Regions from separate parts of the Homo sapiens genome. Here all the other regions are linked to region 7. The links are contacts of gene promoters, found by promoter capture Hi-C in human tissues and cell types (Jung and others, 2019). All regions are on one chromosome and are shown on one strand. Each heading gives the region's core, a stretch centred on a gene start or on the middle of the fragment in contact. The rest is flanking DNA. Distances are from core to core; before and after follow the strand shown.

Region 1 (3,587 bases), core at 970-3,469, 1.1 Mb before region 7:
CCCGTCAAAAAGAAAGGAAAAGAAAAGACATCTTTGGATATTCTTAGGCTTGCTGATAAAAGTCATCTTTACGTCATTAAAAAAATATGTGTCTATGTATATTTATTTCATGTATATATTAAATAGAAAGGCCAAAATTTGGGCCGGGTGTGGTGGCTCACACCTGTGATTCCAGCGCTTTGGGAGGCCGAGACAGGTGGATCACGAGGTCAGGAAATTGAGACCATCCTGGCTAACACGGTGAAACCCTGTCTCTACTAAAAACACAAAAAAAAAAACAAAAAAAAATGGCCGGGTGTGGTGGCGGGCATCTGTATTCCCAGCTACTCGGGAGGCTGAGGCAGGAGAACCGCGTGAACCCGGGAGGCGGGGCTTGCAGTGCGCAGAGATCGCACCACTGCATTCCAGCCTAGGCGACAGAGCGAGATTCCAACTCAAAGAAAAAAAAAAAACAAAAACAACAACAACAACAAAAAAAACAAAATTTAAATAACTCATTACTTCATTCATACATTTATCCACCTATACACTTCTTTACTTAAAAACAGCAAAAAGTATTAATCACTTTATTGAGCACCTTGCTGGGCATCAGGAATAAAAAACAGATTAGTCAAAAATACGGTTCTATTCCTCAAGGTTAAAATAGTGTGCAGAAGAAAAAACAAATAGCGATGTCATAGAATTTAAAATGTTATCGTAAAGTGCAGAGTACCATTAAAATAACACACTGTGAGACTTCGAAAAGTCCTCCCTTGAACCTTCATTTTTGAGACAGAGTTTCGCTCTTATAGCCCAGGCTGGAGTGCAGTGGCCCCTTCTCAGCTCATCGCAACCTCTGCCTTCTGGGTTCAAGCGATTCTCCTGTCTCAGCCTCCCGAGTAGCTGGGGTTACAGGGATGCGCCACCACGTCCTGCTAAATTTTTTTGTAGTTTTAGTAGAGACGGGGTTTCTCCATGTTGGTCAGGCTGTTCTCAAACTCCCGACCTCAGGTGATCAACCCGCCTTGGCCACCCAAAGTGCTGGGATTACAGGCGTGAGCCACTGTGCCTGGCCGAACTTTGATTTTTTCATTAGAATTTCTGGAAACATTATTTTATTATATGTTGGCATATTAGTGAAACATATATTTATTAACCTGTTTTCAGATTTAATGGTGACCCTGTATGTTTGTTTCTGTTTATCGATATCTAGCTATAGTTATGTTTACATCTATACCATATTTTGTATCTATACATATATAAAAGCATCTAAATAGGGCTTGACACCTAATTGGAATTCAATAAGTGTTTGCTTCTTTTCTGATTCTAGATTATGTCAAAATTTAGTAGTGCGTTCTAATAAAGTTGAAGAACATTTGAATAGGAGGTTATGATGACATCACTGTGATGCCTACTGCTGTAGTCCAGCTATCTAAGAGCTGAATTGCTTTCAGTTTTATCTGCGGTTCTAAAGTTGGTGGGCGCCCCTTTGGAAACGTTTACTGAACTCTTGGTACAGAGGCCACTAGATGGGGCTTGTGGGCTTAGTACTTTATAGTTTAGAAAAGTCACTTAAAAAAACTCAGACTTCTCTTTAACCTATTCTGTTCTTTATTAACTGTAACACTGTGAGCAATTATAATTAGAAATCTTTTTATATTAGCAAGTGTGAAACCTAACTATTGCCCTTGCAAATATGTGATATTCCTCAAAGAAAAAAAAAACATCTCCCTACAGCCAGGCACATTTATCTCTTTAGAGGCTAAATACAAGACCCCGTTACCAATTTAATAGTAGTTTTCAAACCTGTCTCCTCATATAGAAGAATCTCAGATACAGAATCCTGGAAGCTCTGTTCCTACTTTTTAGGTTTCAGATTCAATGGTGACTCTGTATGTTTGTTTCCATTTATCTATATCTAGCCAGAAACATGCTTTACCATTATCATGAAGTTTGCTCCTTACCCATTGCTAGTGTTTGTTTTCCTCTAAGACAGTGGTTCTCAAATTTTAATGTGCATCAGAATCACCATATATCGTGAAGGACTTTAGAAAATACAAATTACTGTCCACAACCCCAGAATTTCTAATTCAGTAAGTCTAGGATGGAGCCGGTGACTCTGAATTACCAAAAAATGCTCAGATGATGATGGCACTGCTTATCCAGAGACTACACCTTAAGGAGTTCTGTTGTATGCTAAGGCTCTCCCTGGATAAAGTACATACCTTTCATGAGGTAGCCCTTGTGTCTCAAGACAGCTTCCTGTCACACTGCAACATTCATCTCTCCAGGCACTGAGACTGGGACAAGGACGAGAAGTAAGTGGTGGTTTGTGTTTTCTTTGCATTTATGCTCCTAACCACTGGGTACACAGCACACTAAGTTAGATAAGGTTCAACCTCAACAACAGACCAGGGGCACCTGTCTGCATCTTCTAACAACCAATAGCTAATGCTCATTTGAAAAAAAATAAATGAAGGGTTTGACCCAAGGCATCAAAGCTTTGGATTCTGATTTTCCTTTGTCTCAATGGCTTTTAGATTTCTAAGACCTCCCTTTCCGTTTCTCTCCATCTGACCTCCAACCTTCCCCAGATTCCTAATCCCACCATTTTTGAACCTCCCTCCAGAGTGCCTGGAGCTAGGCCCAGTGGTTCCTCACCTCAACGGCCACATCCAAGCACTTCTCAGCCCCTAGTTTACTGATTTCCAGCACACTACCAGGCACCACTTTACCTTTACTGGAGACCTAGGTATACACTGCTTCTTTACATACTGTATCTACAGCTGGATAATTCAATTCTCCATCTATTTATCCCTTCATCAGTCATTAACTACCAATGATATAACAGGCACTGCTTCACCCTGCCACTATGCTATAGTTGTAAACAAGCCAGACATGACCTCCCATCTTTTGCTATTTCCGTCATTGTTTTGACTGATCTATCTTTTTGGATTTTGGATACCCTTATTTCCATCATTGTTTTGATTGATCTGCCTTTTTGGATTTTGGATACCCGTTGTTGTCACCAGCTTGTTGTTTTGCATCTCAGTTAACTTCTTGGCTTACAGACCCCTGGCTTCTGAAAACCACAAGCTTTCTGGCTTTTACACGGCATCTCAACTTGTATCAGAACATGTTGTTTTCTAGCCCCTTAAGCCAGTCTAGCCTCTGGCAACCTGAGCATCTTCCCCTTGTCTGACTTTCATCATATCTGCTGGGCTTCTGCATCTTCACTGTTAATGTAATGACAATGCCTTAAATTATGTGGATTATATTTTCAAAGGTGTGTTAGCGTATCCCATCTCACTTTCCTTATTTCAAATGATTAACCTATCTTGATGGAAAGTTGATCTTTCCAATGATTTCAAATATGTACCTTCATATAATTTTTATATTTTTATAATTATACAAATTACTTACATCTCAACCTTATAAAGCTCTTTTTTGCTCTTTTATATTCTAATAACAGAATAGCCACTAGTATGTTTTTTGTGTTCTTCAGAATAACCTAGATCAGATATGCACAGTCTCTGATTAAAATGATTTCTTGCATCCCAGAAGCTTCTGTATTATGTCAGCAAAATTGTGTTTATTTCACAGGCTCT
Region 2 (3,744 bases), core at 262-2,761, 1.1 Mb after region 7:
TCTGTTTACAAGAAAGACACTTTTCTCTTTGGCCACTGCCTGTGAGTTATGAGAGAGGTTAACATTTTCTTTTCTCTGTATGTTTACATGAAGTTTCTGGAAATCATTGCGAGGATTCTGTACATGACAGGATTTTCCCAGGGGCGATAGATGAGGGATTTAGAGATGAAATTGGTCTGTGCATCAGGGATGGGAAAGGATTCCAGGGTCTTCATCTGCTTTATGAATTAATATCGGTATACATTACCCTCTTAATATAGTGCTGAGCCAGGAAGTCTTGTGAGCCACCTAAGTTAGCTGTGAAATACTCAGGGCGTCCCTTAATTTTTTACTATAAATTTCTTCCACTTCATTTCTAACTTTGAAGTTTTAGGTAAAGATAGTTTCTCAACTCATATTTTGCCCTTTTCCAGATTATGCATTAGATGCAGTCATGGCCATAAATCTCACTAATGGCCAGTGCTGTACGGCATCTTATGGTCAGCATCTGAGTGTGCAGGCTCTCTGTGCTAATCCTGGGATTCCAGTAAGTCATAAAAACAGCGGCTTAAGAAAGTTTGCATTTTTCCCCTCTTGTCAAACTAAGATAAACCCAATTTTAGAAGAGGTACAGTTCCTATCCCTTCCTGGTGAATCCTAAAAGGAAATCAATACATCAATGCATTGTCCTTTAGTTGCACTTTGTACATTTTCCTGAGAACTTATGGCCAAATTAGTAAATGAAATGTGTAAGACATTGGGCAGTTTTGCAATGCACTTCAAGTCATCTGTCTTAATCCCTGCAATAACCCTAAGAGTAGGGCATTCTCTGTCTTGCTAGTCAGGAAACTGAGGTCCATGGAAGCTAAGTATGTTTCCCTGGGATTGCACAACTAAGTAGCAGAGGTAGGATTCAAGTTCGGATCCTCTGACTCCAATTACCATTCCCTTTCCACTGCAACAGGCTGCTCATGTGTAGGGGAGCATGCAATGAAGATAGCCAGTGAAGCTGAGTCCAAATGCATGATGGAGAAGCCTGTGCAACTATTAGGATGGAGAAACTATTAAGATGGTGGGAAAGGAGAATGGGTGTACAGAGAGCAGAGAAGGAGAGAGAAAGGTCATTTTAAAAAAATGAAATGACAACTTTGAGTCAAGCCCCTTATAGAAGAGCTCACCCTCTTTCTGTTTTCTGATGCTCCCCACATTGCCTTTATCAAGATTTGGAAAGATATATTGAAACTTGGAAGGTATAGGGTATCTTCTGTAGTTCCCTCTATATTGTTTTATTACCTAGAAAGAGCCAGAGGGTGAATATGTTAGACTTTGCAACCCAGTGGTCTCTGTCACAGCCATTCAACTCTGACATTTTTATCTTGAACGCAGCCATGGACAATGCATAAACACATGAGCATGGCTGTGCTTCACTAACGTTTATTTACAAAGCAGCAGCCAGCTGGAGACCACTGTTTGCTGGCTCCTGCCTTAAAACAGTGACTTCCAACCTCAGCTGTACATTACAACCACCTGGGGAACAGCAGAAAATACCAGTGCCCCCTGATTCTTCTCTACAATAACCAAATCTTTCTAAAGTAGAGTGCAGGTATCAATATAGATGTTTAAAGCATGCCATGAAATTCTAGTGTAAAAGTAAGATGGAGGACCACTGTCCTAGATTCTGAAACAGTGGCCTTCTCATTATGGTTCCTGGGACAACAGCATCAGCATTCCCTGGCAACTTGTTAGACATCGAGTTCTCAAGCCCCATTCCAGACCTACGGAAACTGAAACTCCAAGTGGGGCCCCAAAATTGTGTTAACAAGCCCTCCAGGTGGTGCCAAAGCACAACCCAGTTTGAGAAGCACAAGTCTGGGACCTAGAAAATAAGGATTCAGCCCCAGAGCCCTTGCTTGAGTGTCTTCCTGAGCACATCAGGCGTAATGTTCTAGAGCCAGCCCTGGACCTTCCATCGGAAATCCAGCTTTAAGCTCTGCCCTTTACTTCCCCTCCCTAAGCCCCAGAGTCTTCATCTATAAAAAGAGTAATATTAATAGTTATACCTAATTTATAGCTAATTGATGGTGATTGGGTGATTAAAGGTATGTGAAGGCAGTCAAACTATTAGACACCATGCAAATGCAACTATTTATTGTGATTGTAACTAACCCTTCAGAGGTAGAAGTACATGCAGTTATTACTCATGGGCTTGGTCCATGACTCTCAGTCCAGGAGTGTGCTGCGGCCCAAAGGGTTACTACTAAGCATAATCTAGAAAGTACTTAAGAGTGAGTTGTCTTATCCTTACCAAAACCATGGTGGTTCTGGCCCTCTGGAGGGCAACAACGCTATAAAGGGAAGAAAACAGGATCAGAAAGAAGTCCCTATGGAGATAAGGTGATAGAGAGGATACTACCATATGAAAGCAGGAAAAAGCCTTTCAAATTAAGGTGGATAGGATATGCTGAATGTCCACAAACCCTTATAGGAAGTAGACAAAGTAAACCATGTATCCTCCTGGGATCTTTTTCCAGGAGTCTCCGAGCCACACTGGGTGGTACACCTTGATATATAATCCTTGCCAAGAAGTAGTATCAGGTACAATCACAAACATATTCAAAAAGGTCCAGAGACCTTTACGAATAACACACATAATTTGTTCCTTAGACAATCTGGGACACTTCAGAGGCAAATTTACAGTCTTTTAGGTTTGACATCTAGTAGGATAAATAGTTGCCATAAAATGTCCCTTAAACACTGTTTTAGAATGAATATACAATCCTGAAAGAATCAGGATCTAACAAACAGTGGGTTGATTCTTGAGTTCTTGTGAGAAGAAAACCAAGACACTTTGCAAGCTATCTGTTGTTTTATATGTGTGTGGATTTGAACTGCATGTTTCTGAAATAATAAAGACCTTTTGGGAATCAACTATCTTATAGAGACTCCAGAGTTATTATCTGAACTTTAGGGAGAACATCCATGCCAAAATCAGCACCATCTGTTAAATTCCCTCATCGTTCTCTTCCTGTCTTACTGAAAGACCCTGCTCTCTTCACTGTTGTTGTGATTTTTTTTTTTTTTTTTCCTTCTTGTTTGGTCATCTGCAGCATAAAGGGTGTAGAGAGGAGAGTCAGAGAGAAGTGTGTCAATCTTTACTTGGACAGAAGCCCAGGAAGTATTAGTTAGACATTTTCTTATGTAGATTGGAGAGTCATTTTTGTGAGTAAAATGCCCTGCAAAGCATTTTGCTGGTAGATGCTCGGAAAATGTTGAGGCAGGTTAAAATGAGCCATGACACACCCGAGCCGCAGGTGTAGCATTTAGAGTCCAGTGAGGGGGGATTACCTCCTGTTCTCCTGCTAGCTTTGCTGAAATTGTTTAATCCCAAAGGATAAATCCAGGCTGCTTTTCTCAGGGCCATATAACTGCCTTAGTACATAGAGCTGTTGAAATATGAACCAAGCAGGGTGTGAACTAGCTCAAAATATGCTGATTTCCAGATGTTCTTTGATTCTGTCAAACACTGATTGCCCCCAAAGACCATCCTGAGTTGTGGCTGCCAGTGATTCCTCATGTTTCTTTCCATGATCAAGGCAATAATTTTAAAGCCCCGTAGTCTTTCTTATGAGCCTGTGTCTGGGTCTTGTCTAGGTCATATTTTACTTCTCAGTATGAAAATGCAGAGTCTCACTGGATTGCGCTGTAAAATATCTGCACGTCGGTAGCGGTTTTTTAATTTGTTGCTCTTCCCAGGATGGAGAACCT
Region 3 (3,852 bases), core at 1,009-3,508, 1.0 Mb before region 7:
AAAATGAAATCATATGCTCAATTAAAACCACAAAAGGCAGAAGGTAGAAGAAAAACAACAAAGAACAAGGGCATCAGATAGAAAATTATAACAAATACGGTAGGTTTTACTCCAACTGTATCAATAATCACCTTAAACCTGAAAGTTCTAAATATACCAATTAAAAGACAGAGATTGTAAGAATAGATGAAAAATCAAGACCTACCTATATGTTGTCTATAAAATACCCACTTTAAAATATAAAAACACATGTAGATTAAAGCAAAAGGATGGCAAAAGATATACCATGAACATAATCAAGAGTAACTGAGACTAGCTATGTTAATTTCAGACAGAGTGAGCTTCAGACAGGAAAGTTACTGGAGATAAAAAAGGGGCATTATATAGTGATAAAGGGTCAATACTCCAAGAAGATATAGCAATCCTTCATGTGTATGTACCTAATAACAAAGTGTCAAAATACGTCAGGCAAAGGCTGATAGACATCCCACCATTAAGATATACAGGTGGCATATAAGAATATAAAAACATGTTCAACATCATATGTCTTAAGAAATTACAAATTTTAAAAAATGAGATATCATTACTCATCTATAAAAATGGCCAAAATTCACAACACTGACACCACCAAATGCTGGTGAGAATGTGGAGCAGCTGGAACTCTCAATAATTGCTGACGGGAATGTAAAATGCTACAACCACTTTGAAAGAGAGTTTGTCAGTTTCTTAGAAAATTAAACATACTCTTACCATATGTTCCATCAATTGCACTACCCAAATGAATTAAAAACTTATATCCATATAGAAAGCAGTACATGGATCTTTACAGCAGCTTTATTAATAATTGACAAAAGTTGGAAGCAACCAAGTTGCCATTTTGTAAGTGAATGAATTAACTGCGGTATATCTAGACAATGGAATATAATTCAGTACTTGTAAGAAGTAAGCTATCAAGTTATGAGAAGACATGGGGGAATATTAAATGCTCTTACTAAAAGAATGAAGCCAGTCTGGAAAGGCTCAAGACTCTGTAATTCTAACTAAAAATGCTCCTCAGCTTCCAAATGGGATTGCACGCTCATTGTAAATTGTAAATATTGTAGGTTGAAAGTGTATTTTTGACTCAGGATATTTTTAATTTACAGTAGGTTTATCCAGACACAACCCCGTTGTAAGTCACAGAACATAATGAAGGTGTATTGCTCCTGCACCACAGTAAAATCAAGAAATTACAAATCAAACCATTGTAAATTAGGGACTGTCTGTATATAATATTCTGGAAAAGGAAAAATTATGGTGACAGTGAAAAAATTAGTCGTTGCTAAGGGTTAGGAGGTGAAGGGGGTGAATAGATAGAGGACAAATAATTTTTAAGGTGGTGAAGCTATTCTGTATGAAGCTACAGTGGTTGATACTTGTTATTATACATTTGTCAAAACTCAGAGAACGTACAATACCAAGAGCAAACCCTAATGTCAATTGATACTTTGGATGATAATGATGTGTCAATGTTGGTTCATTTATTAAAACAAATATACCACTCTCGCAGGGGAAACTGATAAATGGGGAAGGTGTGCGAGTGGGGTTGGGAGTATATAGGAACTCTGTACTTTCCATTCAATTTTGTTGTGAACATATAACTGCTCTAAAAGTTTATTAATTAATATATACATATGGAGCTCATTTTTCAAGGAAATTATCCAACATTTTATGGACTAGGTTTAGTAAGTAAAAATAAATGCGTGATAACAATGATCATTCCTTTTTTCACATTTCTTTCTTCTAAATTGTCTTAAAATTATAAAAAGCAATATGAGTTTATTTTTAATTCTAAATGTGGAGAAAAAAAGTATTGTTTAGTTGAAGCATTTGGTAATTATGAAATTAGATGTCTATTGGAGAGAACAGTGTTTATTAATTTTAGCTGACAAGGGAATAATTTAAAAAGCTTTCATTTTAGATTAATTTTATGTCTATGCCCACGTATGGGATTGCAGATTACTGAAATGTAGAACATACTTTACAGCAAATAAGTTTAATACCATTATGTTTGCATGACAAATACACATATTTTTCATTATTACTTTTTTTAAAATTTGAAATAATTTGAAAAAAATTTACTGAGAATTTATTAAAAACATATTGCTGCCAGGCGCTGTGGCTCATGCCTATAATTCCAGCACTTTGGGAGGTCAAGGCGGGCGGATCACAAGGTCAGGAGTTTGAGACCAGCCTGGCCAACATAGTGAAATCCCATCTCTACTAAAAATACAAAAATTAGCTGGGTGTGTTGGCGAGTGCCTGTAATCCCAGCTACTCAGGAGGCTGAAGCAGGAGAATTGCTTAAACCAGGATGCTGGAGGTTGCAGTGAGCCGAGATGGCGCCACTGCACTCCAGCCTGGGCGACAGAGCGAGACTCTGTCTCAAAAAAAAATAATAAAAAATATATTGCATATTATGCTCAGGTAGAAATTTCAAGAATATTATTAATTCAATTTCTGCCTACAAAATTTTACATTGAAATAAAATATTTTCTTTTTCCAATAAAAAAAGCAGAGTTTACTGGTTCATAACTCAAAATGGAATCAAATAGCATACATATTTGCATTTATATTATGAAACAATACAAATTCTGAACTCCATATCTCCAGTACTGTGAAAGAGTAACAGTATTCACTTTATTTTGTGTATGTAACTAACAGGAAAGGAGAATTCCCAGAGAGTTTCCTATATTGGATAATAGATGAGAGAATCCTATATTGGATAATGGACAAGAGAGAATTATTTAACTCCAGATTTGATTAAAATGATAAAACTACCTCTTAAGAATGATTATAGTTCAACTCTGAAATGTAAACTTAAACCATTTTCCTATCATTGTAAACAAATTAATCCGACAGTTATATTCACTCCTACTGGTGTGCTAAGGAATTGTTGACACTCTTTGGGCAGGATCTAAGTGGCTACACCCATTCGGCTCTGCCCCAGAAGTCCTGCATCCTTTCTGATACTTCCTTAATTAAATTACATGTACACTACATTCTCTTTCAAGAGGCTTTTATTGGCCAAGAAGATTAACCACTCCATTCTTTGTTCCCATTATACTCCATACAGCTTTTTGTTGCACAGGTAATTACGTACTGCTATATTTTTACTTATTTATTTCTTCTTATCCAACTATATACATTTTAAGGGGAAGAGAAATAATATTCTTTTTGAATCTGCAGTGTTTAGTACCATGGTGAACTCAGTGCCTGGCCAATAGCAGAAACTCAACAGTAACTTAATACATCTTTGTTATACGAATGAAAGGAAAGAAGGGAGGAAGAATAATGGAAATTATCATAGTTTATGGAGTCCATTTAAGTACTATTACTTCTTTATGGCAATTTACTCTCATAACAACCTTATGAAGTACAGATTATTATCCTCATTTTACAACTAAAACAAAACACAAGGTGATGATCAGAGAGTTTAAGCACCTTGCCTGAATTCACACAGTTCATCCTGTGTGCTTGGGATGCAAATAGTGAGTACCTCCGACTCCAGAGCAACACTCAGGACATGACAATGTTCAGAAGGTGTGTGATGCATGCCATAGGCTCTCCCTCATAAAAACACACTTGATCCTAATACCGTCACTGTGGACTAGATATTAGGATCCATTATTTGCAGATGAGAAAGAAAACAGTTAAAACAAGTCTCCTGTCTGAGCAATTTTGAAAGGTGCTAGGCTACAGAGATGCCATGATTATAAGTTCAAGGTTCATTCACTGCCACAAACCTGTCTTATAATACTTTTGCATATTTCCTCACTGAAAAATAGTATCCTCATTCAGAAATTACATAAT
Region 4 (3,923 bases), core at 1,117-3,616, 1.1 Mb before region 7:
TTAGAATCAAGGTATGTTCTTACTTGGTGTTTAATCAAGGAAATACCTAAATCAAGAACCATTCCAAATGGCTGTGTATTAAGTGAGATGGTTTACTGATGTCAACAAAAGTGAAAAAAATTATATTGAAGTATAAATTATATATATTAATCTTAATTGCTCAACATATATTTACAAATACATTTTTTGTGCATATTTGTATTTTGTACCTATATATAAAACAAAAATTATCTTTTGTACAAATATTTGTAAGATCTGGCACATTTTTAGCACCCCAGAAAAATCTTTTTCGGGCTCTCAATGCTGAGAAAAAGAAGGCAGTCTCACCTGTTACCATATATTAATATTGCCTACCTTGGTCTTCATATAAATGGAAGAATACAGTATTTATGTTTTCTTTTTCTGGCTTATTTCACTTAAACTTACATTTGTGAAATCTATTTGTTATGTACCAGTGATTCATTCCTTTTCATTTTGTGTAGCACCCTGTTTAATTATGGAGCTTTTCAATCCATTTTATGCTGATGGACATTCAGGTGTTTCTGTTGAAACTGTTTGTCATAAGTTATCTATGTGTTTAAATTTAGAAGATAATGATAATTATTTTTCCAAAATGGTTGTATCAACTTAATAACTCATTTAAATATGTGAGGATCTCCTAAAAATCTAAAAAAGATGGACCCCCAATTTCAAAGAATAAATAAAAAGGTAAAGCACTTAAACAGGCAGTATATGCACATTTGTAAAAATAAAAGATTGAGTTAAATTTTGAAAAATATAAGAATCTCATTTGAGCTACATGTATGAAAATATTTATTTTAATTATATGACACATAGATTTTGGATATGATGAGTGCTGAACTGAGGGTTTTCACTTGATAAGCCTTAAAAATTGAACTTTTCACTCACGAAACATGCTTAAGACAATTTTATATATGAATTGAATCATAAAAATTGTCTTAGAGTTCAATAAAATGTTTAAAGTACCTTATAGGCTGAGGAAAACAATGGAAGAGTTAACAAGGATACAAAGCGTAAAAGAGAAGAATAAGAGTTCACATAAAATCGAATGAAAAGGTACCATCTTCTGCAACTCTTTAGGTAATTGTTCATGTGTGCTAATTTTCATGAGTTGTAGCACATTGTTTTTGGCCAAGGCTTCCATTCGCTCTATGGATACGCCAAAAATTTCCTATTTCAGATCTTCTAGTCTCCAACTCTGAAGATAAAAATCATTAAAACCTCTGACTCTGATATTGAATGCCTGCATAAAAATTTCCTTCCATCACCTTGCAACAGATGACTTGCTCATACACCTTTCTGACTCACCATCACGGGTTCTCTCCTTCCTTTGAGACTACAGTAATTCTTTTTGTATTTCATGTTATGTGCAAACTTTACTTTCAAAGGGGTTTTTACCTATATTAATGTATTTACATCATTCACTTAATATATTTTCCTATCTGTAAAATTGGTTTAGATATCTTGGATTAGGATAGAACACAATTTTTCTCACTTTTATAAGTTTTTTTTAGTTGGGCCGTTTTTCAGTTGGTGACAGTGTCAGAAATGAATTAAAATTAAGTGAAGAATAGGTAAACAGAAGGATGCCCTTATGACTTACCAACTTTGCTTAGTTTTTTCAAGTTCAACAAGACCCTTCTCTCCCTTCAAGGAAGATGATTCCTAGGCATGTTTGTTATTTTTATCAAAACAGCTGAGTTTTTTTTTTCATTCAAATTGGCAGTATACCTGGTAAATACAAATTATTTCTGAGCTCATGTATATTTTTAGGACAGTTTCTTGTGATATGCCTAGGTTATAATATTAAGGAACATCGACTTTTCTCAGTGTTGGGGCACTTGAAAGAGTTCTTAATAACCCTGCAGACTTACTTCCAGAATAATGTAAGGCCACTTTTTAAAAAACTGTGCATATTACTCTGAGAAATTAATATGCACTTCCTTGAGTTTCTTTAGTCTTAGACTTGATAGTTGTAATTGTCAATAATTGAAGACAGAATATTCTAGAAAATATTATTTTTTGCCTTTCTCTGAAATATTTGTTGCTCTGTATGGATTATTTTATAGATTAAAAAACAGAAAATATATTTCAGGTCCTACAGTGTACCCCATATATGTGAGCATTAAAGCTTAGAGATAAAGGCACTGTACAGAATAAAATGTAACACATTGACCAAATGGTTTAATCAACTTCATTGCTCAAGCTCTACCTCATTACTAGAAATGCTGCTCTAAACCATTTTCTCTTTTCAGAAAAACCCAGTATCACCAGAGACTCACCACAAAATGCCTGAGCAGATTTGTTCTCTAAATTGCCTAAATCCATCCAATACTAATTTGTCCAAATTGCTCTTTTTCTCCATAAGAAAGTTTCACCCTCTTAACCTATTATATAATCTTCCCTCCAATTTCAAAGTAAGAGAGAAGTCTCCTTTTTCCAGAGCTAATTCCTGCATCTGACCTGTGTATTCCAACCCAGCCACTTTGTTCCATTAGTCATCCTTTCCTTTGTCATAGCTGTTACCTCTTATGCTCTGTTGCCTTGTTCTTTACATATTTTCTTGAAATTCCTTCATTCTAAAACTCCACATCAACAATAATTATACATAGCAGTAAAGAATATTATAATTTATTATGTCAACTGCGTGATGGGTAATAAAAGGGTACTTATGAAAAATATCCTTAGAGGACTTATGATTTTCTAGATACCTCTTGTTTTCACATGTATCGACAGTAATTTAATTCTGAAAACCATACTTCAAGTAATGCATTATTATCTTTCCCATTAGACATTATTAAAATTAATGCCCTGCGAAATCATTAGGCTCATTCCCATATAGAAAGGAGCCTGCAGGGCTGGGATTTTACCCTAGGCCTTTGAGCTCCAGTGTCTTATCATGTCAGCCCTTCCATGCAATGAAGAACTTAGAATATTCTACAATCACTGTCTTTGCTTTGTCACCACATAAACTGTAAATCACCACAAAATAATTTTAATTTCTAGCATTCAACTAAAATTTGTTTCCTCACATGTGATCAGAGACTCTCATGTTGACTATTCGCAATCCTATTCTAGACAAATTTCCTGTGGTAGTAAATACTCAACTAAATCTATATGTAGAAACATATTTCTACTTTGGATCTCCTCTTGAACTTTTTTCTCTCATCCTACTCTGTTTCTATTGTCCTTTAATAGCATCATACTTGTCAGTATCACCAGGCCACTTCTAGACCTGCCAAGATTACCTGTTCAACATTAATTATCAATAGTGTAATAGCCATCGTATGTAAATTACTCCTAATGTACATCTCTACTATGAAATATAAAAAATTCTTCCTTAGTTCATCTTTTCCACATGGTTTCTCAAACAGACCCTCATAATCACAGCTCTCAAATGTTTATCTTGCTGCCTTGCTGTTTTCTTGTAGCGCCTTCTATGTATGTATCAATATGTTGGTTTTTTTTTTTTTTTTTTTTTTTGAGACAGGGTCTTAGTGTGTCACCCAGGCTGGAGTGCAGTGGCACAATCTCGGCTCACTGCAGTCTTGAACTCCTGGGCTCAGGCAAACTTCCCATCTCAGCCTCCTAAGTAGCTGGGACTACAGGCACTCACCACCACACCCAGTTCCTTTTTATTTTTTTTGTGCAGATGGGGTTTTGCCATGTTGCCCAGGCTGGTCTGAAACTCCTGAACTCAAGTCATCTGCCTACTTTGGCCTCCCAAAGTGCCAGGATTATAGGCAGAAGCAACTGTACATGTCTCCATCAACACATCTATCATCAGATCTTTGTAATCTCTCACTGTCTCACTGAAACTGTTGTGGTCTTACTCTATTCAAACTCTTTCCTTCAATTGCCCCTCAGTTGAAAATCCTCTCATGAATGATTTCTTCCGTTAG
Region 5 (3,636 bases), core at 860-3,359, 1.1 Mb after region 7:
ATAATTTCAAAGAAATACTGCCTGATTATTTTTAATTCAATTTCTTCCATTTGTAGTACTGTAAACACTTTATATACCTACAATTGTTAGTGCTATTAATGTTGCTTTGCCAATTATCTTGATGTAAAATTAACAGATAAAATCCTTAATGTCATAAAGCACTTGAACCACATCTGACTGTGTCATATAAACTTAGATCTCAAAGACTGCCAGTTATGAAAATACTTTTATTAGTCACTGTTATAAATTGCTTTATGATTTTAGTTAATATCCTTCTATAGTGTAGAACTCATAAGATTATATTGGTTGAATTTGGCCTCAAAGTAAGTACATCTCAGCATTTCTGTCTATAAAAATCAAATGTGCTTACAACCTAAAGGCCTATCCATGAAGTATCAAAATAAAGGGGTAACTAACTGTTACATTTTGTTATAAATTTATTGCCATTTATTAGCAAATAAAACCTTCTCTCTAGTGTAGATATTTGTAGTTGCTGCAACCTTCTACTTTACCTGGCTTATATCTATTCTTTTTTTTTTCCCTTGAGACGGGGCTTCACTCTGCCCCAGGCTGGAGTGCAGTGTCATGATCATGGCTCACTGCAAACTTGACCTGCTGGGCTCAAGTGATCCTCCTACCTTAGCTTACTGAGTAGCTGAGACCACAGGCATACACCACCATGCCCAGCTTTTTATTTTTTTGTAGAGGCGTGGTTTTGCCATGTTGTCCAGGCTGGTCTCGAACTCTTGAGCTCAAGCAATCCACCTGCCTCGACCTCCCAAAGTGCTGGGATTACAGGCATGAGCCAACGTGCTCAGCGGCTTACATCTATTCTCTATTGCAGTTTCAGGAAAAGTTTAAAAATAGTCACCATTTTTCTTTTAAACAACCAATTAGATTCCACCAAATAACTAGTCAGCTGTTTTAAAGAAATGATGGTTTTCATTAGATTATATTGTTTAAATTTTACTTTACAAATTGCATTGTATATCAAGATCTTTCTAACCAGAGGACAAATGGTGAGTATGGGTTTGGTCCCTTTTTTCCCATTTTTGCTGGCTCTAACTTAGTTATTGGAACAATTCAGTCTTTTCTGAATTTTTGTAAAATCTAATTTAAGAACAGGAGTACAGTGTGAGATGAATAAGTTCTAAAGATCTGAGGTACTACATTGTGCCTGCAGCTAACAATAGTGTATTGTTCACTTAAAAAAAAACTGTTAAGAGGGTAGATGTCATGTTAAGTATCCTTACCACAATAAAATAAGAAGTTTTAAAAGAACTGGGTACATTTTGCACTTAGTTAAAATTGCACTGAATTTGAATAATATAATGATATGTATGGCAACTAATTAATTTTTTCCCTCTGAAACAGAGAAGCCGTTTTCCTTCATCCCCGGGAGAAATAAACACACACCCTTAAACAGGGGAAGTAGAGCAAGAAAAATATGTTTCTAAAGACAATGTTTTTGCAGCTTAGCATAAACTAAGTAAAGCATCAACACTTCGAGAATTTTCTCTGGTGTTTAAAATCTGATGGACATGAAAATTGAGATTTGAACCTTTTATAAAGGAACTTTATTGGTAATGTTCAAAATGCTCTAGCTATAAAGGTCTCGAGAGTATAGACAAGTAGCAAACAGAATGAAAATCTTCTACCTTTTGCACCCCTCAAAAATATATTTTATCCATCTTTTTCTGAAAATGATTGGTAATGGTTAAACGTATCATCACAAGTAAAAGCCAAGGACCAGACTCTGTGCCTAAGTATTTAAATCAATAAGCCAATTTTATTCTAAAACATTCTCAGACAGCATGTAGCATTTACTTCCTCAAAGGTGTGGCTTCAGGCTCTGTAAGTGAAAATTGCAGTTTTACTGATTTTTTTATTAAATTCTGATCCCTTCCCAAATGGTAAGAATTAGTGACGTGTAATGCACAGCCAGCCATAAGCCCACTTTGCTCAGCTCCTGAGAACAAGGCACTGTTTGCGCATCAAACGGAGCTATACCGAGGTTATTCCTGAGAGACACGAGTTAGGTCCAAAGCTAATAACAGAGTCTCAGCAGCCATTGGCTCTCCTGAGGCCTTCGTCCTTTGGGGTTCCAATATAGCTCTGAACACTGGAAAGTTGGGGGAGTTATCCTTGGCCAGACTCCAGTCCAACAGTCAAACACGCTCATCTTTAAGAAGGATGCACTGCGAAACTATCCAGATGGGCCTGTCATCCATTACAGCCTATTTAGGCTGTTTATAAACAAGTCTCATATTACCTACTCCTGTTTTAATTTTCCCTGGAAAAGATGTTTCCTGAATATTTATAAGAAGCATGTGTCTGAGAAAAGGAGGATAATTGGAAAAGATTTCTCTTCATTTCTTGAAGTGTTTCAGCAGAAAAATGCTTCCAAGGACGATATCAAAACACTACTCCAATCACCCCACCCCTTTTGCCAAAATGAAAATAACTATAAAGCACTTGGAGAGTTACTTCTTAGTGCCATTTAAATTAGTACCTGTGGTAATAACTTTGGGCCCTGTTGGTAAATGTTCTTATATCAGTTATTCTAAAGCTATTTTTTTAATGTGAACTGGTCGTTATGGGGTTTGTTTTAAAAATAAAACTACCAACCCCAAGCTGAGTAAACTGCTGCTATACCTTATATAAAATAATTGAAAACAAAACTCTCTCTTAAAAAATACACCAGTTCCATCATTTAACATCTTATTATATTTATAAGGAACTTATAAATTCTTTTGTATCTCTAGGGAACATTTCCATTTGCTCCTCTAAAGTTATATACACATAAGAAGCAGTTGAGGTAGTCAGAAGCTTTCAGACATACTACCCTAAAGTGGTTTGTGTTATCCAAGAATGAGTGAATGTATTTTTATAAATTTAGCTGCTCATGGAAAGCCAACTCATCTGAGTCTATCGCAGTCCCTACCGCCAACAGCCATGATTTGTTGAGGATACTAATGTTATCAACTGCAGTAATTCAGTTAACAGAGTCATCCTACCATCACGTTGCTTTCTTGTCACCAACAAACTCCCCTTAGAAGCCCCTCTGTCCTAGCTGACTATTAATGACTTTCAATCAAACAGGCCAGAGATTATTGTTTGTACTCAGGAAGAGACTGGTTATGTTCCTTTATTCTTAAATGTGTACTCTGCAAATTCTCTTACATAATTTGATGTGAAACTATAATTTTTTAAAAGACGGTTCCAATTCACTGGAAATGTCAAGTATAAAAATAAATCAGCACAAAATAGCTCGATTTTTAAGATCTGAGCATCAAAAGGTATTTCAAATTAGCCTCTGTAAAAGGCAATTAGTTGTACAGCTCAGAAAATTAGAGCACAACATGTTCTACAGCTCACAGACGCACTTGGACAGGGAGTGTCAGTTACTTTATTCCAGCTGATTCATTAGAGTAAAAATGGACTGTGCATGGTGTATCTTAGAGGAATATATTTTATAAAAGTAAATTTAAAAAAAAAGCCAGGTTTGGAAATTAACTCAACAAGTTGGTGATGACTTAGAGCCATAAATCTCCAGTAAGTATTCAACACTGTACTGTGGATGTGGATTTCTCAAATATCCTACTGGTCATTCTGAGGGAATTTGGGGTGGGGATG
Region 6 (3,621 bases), core at 411-2,910, 1.2 Mb after region 7:
CTCTGAGTATAAAAAGAGCAAAGAATGGAATTTCTTAAACTTAAGTACTGGCCAGAAGAAATGTCTAAGGCCAACATGGTAGGTGTGGCCTCCCCTTGAGTCTGGGGTTCACACATTCCTTGGGTTGCATAACTCAGGTATCAGTTGATATTGTTCTTCAAACACCTATTTCTGTACAGTCCACCCACTCATCACACCACTGCCTATTAAAAACAATCCTGTTGGGTAGGGTGGGGGACCATGGATGGGGAGATTTTGCCTCCCACCACCATGCCCCATATCTGCTGAGCTCTGTTTCCACTCTTTCCTGGTTGGTTGTATTAGTCCGTTTTCATACTGCTATAAAGAACTGCCCGAGACTGGGTAATTTATAAAGGAAAGTGGTTAATTAACTCACAGTTCAGCATGGCTGGGGAGGCCTCAGGAAAATTACAATCATGGTGGAAGGCGAAGGGGAAGCAAAAGACCTTCTTCACAAGGTGACAGGAAAGAGAAGTGCCAAGCCGTGGGGGAAGAGCCCCTTAAAAAACCATCAGATCTCGTGAGAACTCACTCACTATCACGAGAACAGGATGGGGGAAACCACCACCATGATTGAATTACCTCCACATGGCCTCTCCCCTGACAGGTGGGGATTATGGGGATTACAATTCAAGATGAGATTTGGGTGGGGCCACAAAGCCTAAACATATCAGTGGTCTAACTTTCTTTTTCAATCTTTCCACACTAGGTGATGAATCCAGTGGCTCAGGGAGTGGCAGTGGGTGCATGGATGACGTGTGTCCCACGGAGTTTGAGTTTGTCACCACAGAGGCCCCCGCAGTGGATCCCGACCGGAGAGAGGTGGACTCTTCTGCAGCCCAGCGTGGCCACTCCCTGCTCTCCTGGTCTCTCACCTGCATTGTCCTGGCACTGCAGAGACTGTGCAGATAATCTTGGGTTTTTGGTCAGATGAAACTGCATTTTAGCTATCTGAATGGCCAACTCACTTCTTTTCTTACACTCTTGGACAATGGACCATGCCACAAAAACTTACCGTTTTCTATGAGAAGAGAGCAGTAATGCAATCTGCCTCCCTTTTTGTTTTCCCAAAGAGTACCGGGTGCCAGACTGAACTGCTTCCTCTTTCCTTCAGCTATCTGTGGGGACCTTGTTTATTCTAGAGAGAATTCTTACTCAAATTTTTCGTACCAGGAGATTTTCTTACCTTCATTTGCTTTTATGCTGCAGAAGTAAAGGAATCTCACGTTGTGAGGGTTTTTTTTTTCTCATTTAAAATAAAAAAGGAAGAAAGAAAATAATTTTCCTTGTAAAATCGGGCCAAACCCCAAGACAGCTACATTTTCAACAAAAAAGCAAACAGAGAAAAATAAATGAACTTTAACACTGTAAGTTCAGCATTGACAGCCAACTTCCAGTGTAAGCTTTTTTGTGACAAATCCGGGTTTAAAAATGCTTATGGGGAGAAAGCTTAAAGTTTGTTCTAAATGTAGTGAAAATGCACTGTTGTCTTGGAGGTATCATCTTGCACTCTAACCAAACAACACCAAATTAATCTGGAGGTACTGATACTAAATTTGGAATCCCGTCTTTAATATGAGAACACAAATTACTACAACTCAGTACCTCTGTCTTACTCTGCCCAATTTCAATTTAGTAATGGCACCATTATTCTTAATTCCCTTAATGTCTGTCCGCTGTATCCAATTGGCACAGATTTTCCCCTTCATCTTCAATTACTAGTAGCTACCCCCATCAATTCACCTTCCTCAAGAGTCTCAATTGAAAATAATCTTTGATGATACAATCTCTGCTTTTGCCACAGGTTTGACATTAACTAGACGTTTCTGCCCCTGTGCTCATTACCCTCCCAAAACAATAGTTTTTTTAATGAATTGAAACACAATTAGATCCATTCCTGAGTTTTCATTTTTAACTATTTACTTTGTGTCAGTTGGTTTCTGCATCACAAGGGCATTCTCTTACAAAACAACTCACAACAGAAAAAAAAAGTCAAGACAAAAAATATATATATATAGTATTGACATGGAGATTTCTTTCACTTTTTTAGTCTTAGTATGATCATCTATTTTTATATCTATGTATATATAAATCACAGATTTTAACTTCTTAATTCCAAGCTCAGGGTTGACACACCTTTGTAAGAAAATGTTTTGTCAACCAGCTCTTCTTGTTTTGTGCTGCTCAAAGAAGGGATTCCTCAGTGATCGGTGAGCACCAAGAATCAAGAAAGAGAACTTTTTATGTATCTAACTGTCCATTTATTAAAAATTTGCCAGGGCACACCCTTCTGCATGAGTGTGCTTCAGCCTGGGTGCTCCAGACTACACCAAACTCATGGGATGAGCCATTGGTGTGCAGGGCTTTACCGGTGATGGAAACTGTATGTGTAAAGAATGTTATTCATGAAAAACCATTGCTTTCATGTAAAACACCTTCGGCCTAGGATTCCTGCCTGGCACTTGGATACATTACCTAACTCAATAGGCCAGTTTAGAGCCACAGCCTAACCTGTTCACCAAGTAGGCCAAAGCCAGGCCTTTCGCTCCCCCTGACAGAGAGAAGCAAAATAAACCCAACTGGGGGCTTTATGAATACAGTTGGCTATCCATATGTTTCTTAGTTTTTATGATGCATCTGGAGTAGGGAAAAGTAATGTTTCAAGACACCATAGTAGGCCAGTTACATTTTAATTAACTCATCGACAGTATTGACACGTAAATGGTATTTTTCAATCTGTTCTCATCAAAATTAAAATTAGTTATTGATTTAGTCATCACATTTAAGTAGAACACATGTGGCACAATAGTATTAAGTATATTTGAGCACTTTTGCAAGACAGAAAGTATTTACAAGCATCTATTGCTACTTTATGCCTAATGAAATATAAAATGTAGGATGATGAGAGACTTTGTGGCATTCTTTCATTTAAACCTTTATGAAATTAACCATCTAGTTCATCATTACATACTCCTAGAAAACCATCCATTTCACTGCCCACATTTTGGCTTCCTACCACAAATTCCACATAAGACTTCTCTATGAAGGACCAGTCATTTACATTGCTCATTTCATTCTGTGTTCAGAAGTCAGTATTGTCTTTCTCCAATAATTAAGGTGCAATACAAATTAAATCAACCTTGATTTTCCAGACTATTTGAATAATAACTTGCTTTTATGGCTTTAAACTCCAGGTCTTTCCTTTTTAAAATATTTCTGCATTCTCTTTTATGAACTAGATCAGGATGCCTTGTTTTTCCTGTGCTTTCACCCCCAAAAGGTTTTGTGCATGTGTATGAATACACATAATATTAGTGAATGTGAACCCATGTTCTATACGCACTAAACACACAGTTAATATATAAACGCCTGCTTCATTTGTTTCAACACCTTCATTATCAATATGATTCATATTGATGAGATATAGTGATGCATAATGAGCCAGGCAGAGAGCTGAAATGATATCAGTTAATGATGTCACAGTGTTAGCACCCTGCATGGATGTGGTCAAAATATCATTCAAGTTGTACTTCCTAGTTTTTATCATCATACTACTATGTCATATGATTTTCAGACTAATTTAACATGAGAAATGTTTTG
Region 7 (3,809 bases), core at 889-3,388:
CATTCCATTCTCATTCCAATCCCTTGTCTAGGCTCCTGCTGTGGCTCTCAGTGTTAACTGGAATGTTTGACTTTGTCTCTTACACCACTGCAAACAGTGTGACATTACTCAACAAATGGACCAGGCAGGGTTAAGGTCACCAGTAAAGCAAGTTATCTAATTCTTTGGTCTGACTTGAGTTCACAAACCTACCCTAAACTATTTGACTCTCCTGATGGAATTAAACTAATCTATTTAGTCATTCGTCTCATGTAATATCTTTGCCACAAATCCTAAGATCATTTTATAAGTATAGGGACGGTGTGCAATAGTCTAGTGCTATAAAGTTGTATTGAGTGCTCATTCAATACTTAACAATTAGCTGATCTTCAAATAATTTAAAACCACATATACTATGCTTTTACCCATTCTTCCTTTACCTCCATTTAAAATAATGAATTATCTGCTATACTGAGTCAGGGTAAATTACAATGAGTCCCAGGATAAGGTGGTAGGACAGGAAGTGTGTGTTTTTACCCTCTTCCTCTGGAGTGCATAATGCTTTACTATGATACAAAGAGAAGTTTGAAGGAAGTCACGTTGTCAAATATGACAGAAGTAATAACTTGACTGCAATTCCTGAGCCTATCAACCTCACCGTTTGTCCACAAACATAACCAGAATATATTTTATCTTGATTTCCGACTTGAGGGAAAATAAGTTCAGTGATTTAAGATCTGCCAGTTAGCATAAATATTGTGAAAGCAAAAAACTGTGCTAAAATTTTAAGAGAAAAAAAGTTAAGTGTGTTGCGTTTTCAGAAAGATTTAGCTATGGAGTTTTTTTTTTTGTTTTGTTTTGTTTTTTTTTTTTTTGGTTTTGTTTTGTCTTGACCTATGAGTTTGAAGAAGACAAAGTGGCTCTGTAAATAAGTCGACTTCATTTTTAAAGCGTTTGGAAAGGTTAAATGAGGTTGAATCTTGAGAGTCTTTTTGGTGGTTAGGAGAGGGGGAATTTATTAAAGAGAGGAAGACAATGTACCTAATATGTTGTGATGATAATGACAAACTCAAAGATTTAAACTTCATGAGTCATTCTGGTCATTCATATCATCATCAGGAAAACATCTTCATGTGTAGCTTCATAGGTGAGCTCCACAAAACTGTGCATTACCTTGTAGTAGTTTGTGAATAATGTGCTGACCTATGACACATAGCCACGTAAGTGAATAAACACTATTATTATTATTATTTTGTCTTGGTTTTCATTAAACTATCTTAGTAGTTTCAGGAGCTCTGGGTTTCAACACACACTTCTGCCAGCTGACTTTAGTGCGTCCATTAGCATAACAAAGTCAATTAGGCAAACCTGAATTTTCACTTTTATCCCGTTCACAGAACATCAGTGTAAATGGAGACAGGAAGAAGAAATTGGATTGATTCTCCACTTGAGAATTATGTTAACTTGGAAGAAAATGTTAAGTCTACTATGTGAGGGCATCTAGTGAGAGGGAAGGAATCACCTCCCTTCCCCCATTATGTCCCTTTATGCACCTCTGACCCTTGTGCTCTCCTTTTCTTGTTGCTTCTGTGGTCTGGTTGTTAGCTTTCCCGATCCTCCACACATTAGAAACCTAAGCATAATGATTTCTGATCGAAGGCTATGAGATATTTGAAATAAAAAAAGGGGAAATTGTTGAGTCTAGAACCAAACCTTTAAAAATTAAGAACTACCAGTCTGTAATGTGTGCCTTTAGAAAAAAACAAAGTCAAACAGAAATTAGGCAACTAGTTAGAGCCGTGATTGTGCTCTGCCACCCATGAACTCCCGTCTATGACTATTTCCACTCTGGCTTTGTGTTTCAGTAGGTCAGGGACACATATTAAGAGCAACAATTGGAACTGCGTTATCCTTTACCTCCATAAAAATACAGCTTAATAACATGTTAATGACTTAAAATTACCTTGTCTTTCTAGATTGTTTATTGATGTCATTTCAGATCGGTATAAAGGATGTGAAGTGAATAAGAAAATAGGTACGTTTCTTTTTCTTTTTTTCCCCTTTCTACCGACTAGGAAGAGATCCAGTCCAGGTTTTGCCTTTGACTCGGCCTGTGAATTTCGGCTGTGCAATGTGTAGCACGTTTCTTTCTCCCCCCTCCTTTCTCCTTCCCTCTTGCCTCCAGTGACTGTCTCCAGGATTTCTCTCTTCCTATTTCAGGAGGACTCTCACAGGCTCCCACAGCCTGTGTTAAGCTGAGGTTTCCCCTAGATCTCGTATATCCCCAACACATACCTCCACGCACACACATCCCCAAGAACCTCGAGCTCACACCAACAGACACACGCGCGCATACACACTCGCTCTCGCTTGTCCATCTCCCTCCCGGGGGAGCCGGCGCGCGCTCCCACCTTTGCCGCACACTCCGGCGAGCCGAGCCCGCAGCGCTCCAGGATTCTGCGGCTCGGAACTCGGATTGCAGCTCTGAACCCCCATGGTGGTTTTTTAAACACTTCTTTTCCTTCTCTTCCTCGTTTTGATTGCACCGTTTCCATCTGGGGGCTAGAGGAGCAAGGCAGCAGCCTTCCCAGCCAGCCCTTGTTGGCTTGCCATCGTCCATCTGGCTTATAAAAGTTTGCTGAGCGCAGTCCAGAGGGCTGCGCTGCTCGTCCCCTCGGCTGGCAGAAGGGGGTGACGCTGGGCAGCGGCGAGGAGCGCGCCGCTGCCTCTGGCGGGCTTTCGGCTTGAGGGGCAAGGTGAAGAGCGCACCGGCCGTGGGGTTTACCGAGCTGGATTTGTATGTTGCACCATGCCTTCTTGGATCGGGGCTGTGATTCTTCCCCTCTTGGGGCTGCTGCTCTCCCTCCCCGCCGGGGCGGATGTGAAGGCTCGGAGCTGCGGAGAGGTCCGCCAGGCGTACGGTGCCAAGGGATTCAGCCTGGCGGACATCCCCTACCAGGAGATCGCAGGTAAGCGCGGGCGCGCTGCAGGGGCAGGCTGCAGCCCTCGGCTGCCGCACGTCCCACTGGCCGCCCGGCGTCCCCTTCCTTCCCCCTGTTGCTGAGTTGGTGCTCACTTTCTGCCACCGCTATGGGACTCCGCGTCTCCGTGTTGGGCGGCGGATGCTCCTGCGGCTTCTTCGGCGGGGGAAGGTGTGCGTCTCCGCCGCCTCATTGTGTGCACACGCGGGAGCACCCTGGCTCCCGCCTCCCGCTGCTCTCGCGCCCTTCTACCCCTTAGTTGATGGCTCAGGCCCGGCTGGCCAGGGAGCCCGGGTCACTCCGGGGCGGCTGCAAGGCGCAGACGGAGAGCCGAGCCGGGCGCTCACTCCGCGTTCTGGTTCGGGCAAACTTGGAAGAACTGCGACCGCAGTTTGCCCAGCGCCACAGTCTGAGTGGCGCCTTCTCCACTCCCGCCCTTGCGCCGGCAGGGGCGGTGGAGAGACGCGGAGGGCTCCCCCAGCCCCTCTCTCCCCTATCCGTCCTTCGGGCGACAGAGCGCCCGGCGCTCGGGCCGGGGGCGGGCAAGGCTGGGAGGGACCCTCGCCGGGGACCTGGCCTCTGGACGCCGGCGTTTCAAGGCTGGTTTGGGGACTTCACGGGCTGCCTGTTTCAGATGTGGGGCGGGCTTTCCCGTTAGGGTTCCTCAGTGCTTCCCCAGTTGCTGTTGGCCACTCAGGGCCCGGGGACACCCTGCCACCCGGTCTGGAGCCGGCCTCGTCTGCCAGCGAACAGCCAACTTTAGCGGGTGGCTCAGCTGGGGATTCGGGTCCGGGTTCGGGGGCCCCGTGTCCCCCGCATGCCCGGCCACTGGCATTGCTCCACCAAGAG

What was found. The method cuts DNA at HindIII sites, captures the fragments that hold promoters and counts their contacts. A contact is called where the count stands out against the background at its distance.
Region 1: a fragment that was not itself captured here is called in contact with the fragment with the promoter of GPC6 in region 7 in 1 of the 25 tissues and cell types used here (dorsolateral prefrontal cortex).
Region 2: a contact is called between a fragment that was not itself captured here and the fragment with the promoter of GPC6 in region 7, in 1 of the 25 tissues and cell types used here (lymphoblastoid cells).
Region 3: a contact is called between a fragment that was not itself captured here and the fragment with the promoter of GPC6 in region 7, in 1 of the 25 tissues and cell types used here (mesenchymal stem cells).
Region 4: a fragment that was not itself captured here is called in contact with the fragment with the promoter of GPC6 in region 7 in 1 of the 25 tissues and cell types used here (dorsolateral prefrontal cortex).
Region 5: a contact is called between a fragment that was not itself captured here and the fragment with the promoter of GPC6 in region 7, in 1 of the 25 tissues and cell types used here (dorsolateral prefrontal cortex).
Region 6: a fragment that was not itself captured here is called in contact with the fragment with the promoter of GPC6 in region 7 in 1 of the 25 tissues and cell types used here (dorsolateral prefrontal cortex).

What each region holds. Positions count from the first base shown.
Region 1 is chr13:92,174,099-92,177,685 of GRCh38, forward strand. The region is part of intron 7 of GPC5 (glypican 5); the gene reads left to right. Among named protein-coding and RNA genes, the nearest start is that of GPC5-AS2, 180 kb to the right of the region's middle. The HindIII fragment of the contact is 3,014 bases long and covers 713-3,587 here.
Region 2 is chr13:94,332,856-94,336,599 of GRCh38, forward strand. The region is part of intron 6 of GPC6 (glypican 6); the gene reads left to right. Among named protein-coding and RNA genes, the nearest start is that of DCT, 140 kb to the right of the region's middle. The HindIII fragment of the contact is 7,041 bases long and covers 1-3,744 here.
Region 3 is chr13:92,190,749-92,194,600 of GRCh38, forward strand. All of the region lies in intron 7 of GPC5 (glypican 5), which reads left to right. Among named protein-coding and RNA genes, the nearest start is that of GPC5-AS2, 160 kb to the right of the region's middle. The HindIII fragment of the contact is 3,219 bases long and covers 650-3,852 here.
Region 4 is chr13:92,105,581-92,109,503 of GRCh38, forward strand. All of the region lies in intron 6 of GPC5 (glypican 5), which reads left to right. Among named protein-coding and RNA genes, the nearest start is that of GPC5-AS2, 240 kb to the right of the region's middle. The HindIII fragment of the contact is 5,351 bases long and covers 1-3,923 here.
Region 5 is chr13:94,306,793-94,310,428 of GRCh38, forward strand. All of the region lies in intron 6 of GPC6 (glypican 6), which reads left to right. Among named protein-coding and RNA genes, the nearest start is that of GPC6-AS1, 120 kb to the left of the region's middle. The HindIII fragment of the contact is 6,244 bases long and covers 1-3,636 here.
Region 6 is chr13:94,402,285-94,405,905 of GRCh38, forward strand. It overlaps GPC6 (glypican 6), which reads left to right. Exons shown (of 9, transcript NM_005708.5): 9 at 731-3,621. The coding sequence ends at 933. Among named protein-coding and RNA genes, the nearest start is that of DCT, 76 kb to the right of the region's middle. The HindIII fragment of the contact is 3,353 bases long and covers 1-3,337 here.
Region 7 is chr13:93,224,669-93,228,477 of GRCh38, forward strand. GPC6 (glypican 6) reads left to right here and starts at 2,139. Exons shown (of 9, transcript NM_005708.5): 1 at 2,139-2,948. The coding sequence starts at 2,789. RefSeq lists enhancers at 1-325, 2,732-3,574 and a silencer at 3,628-3,809. The HindIII fragment of the contact is 15,285 bases long and covers 1-3,809 here.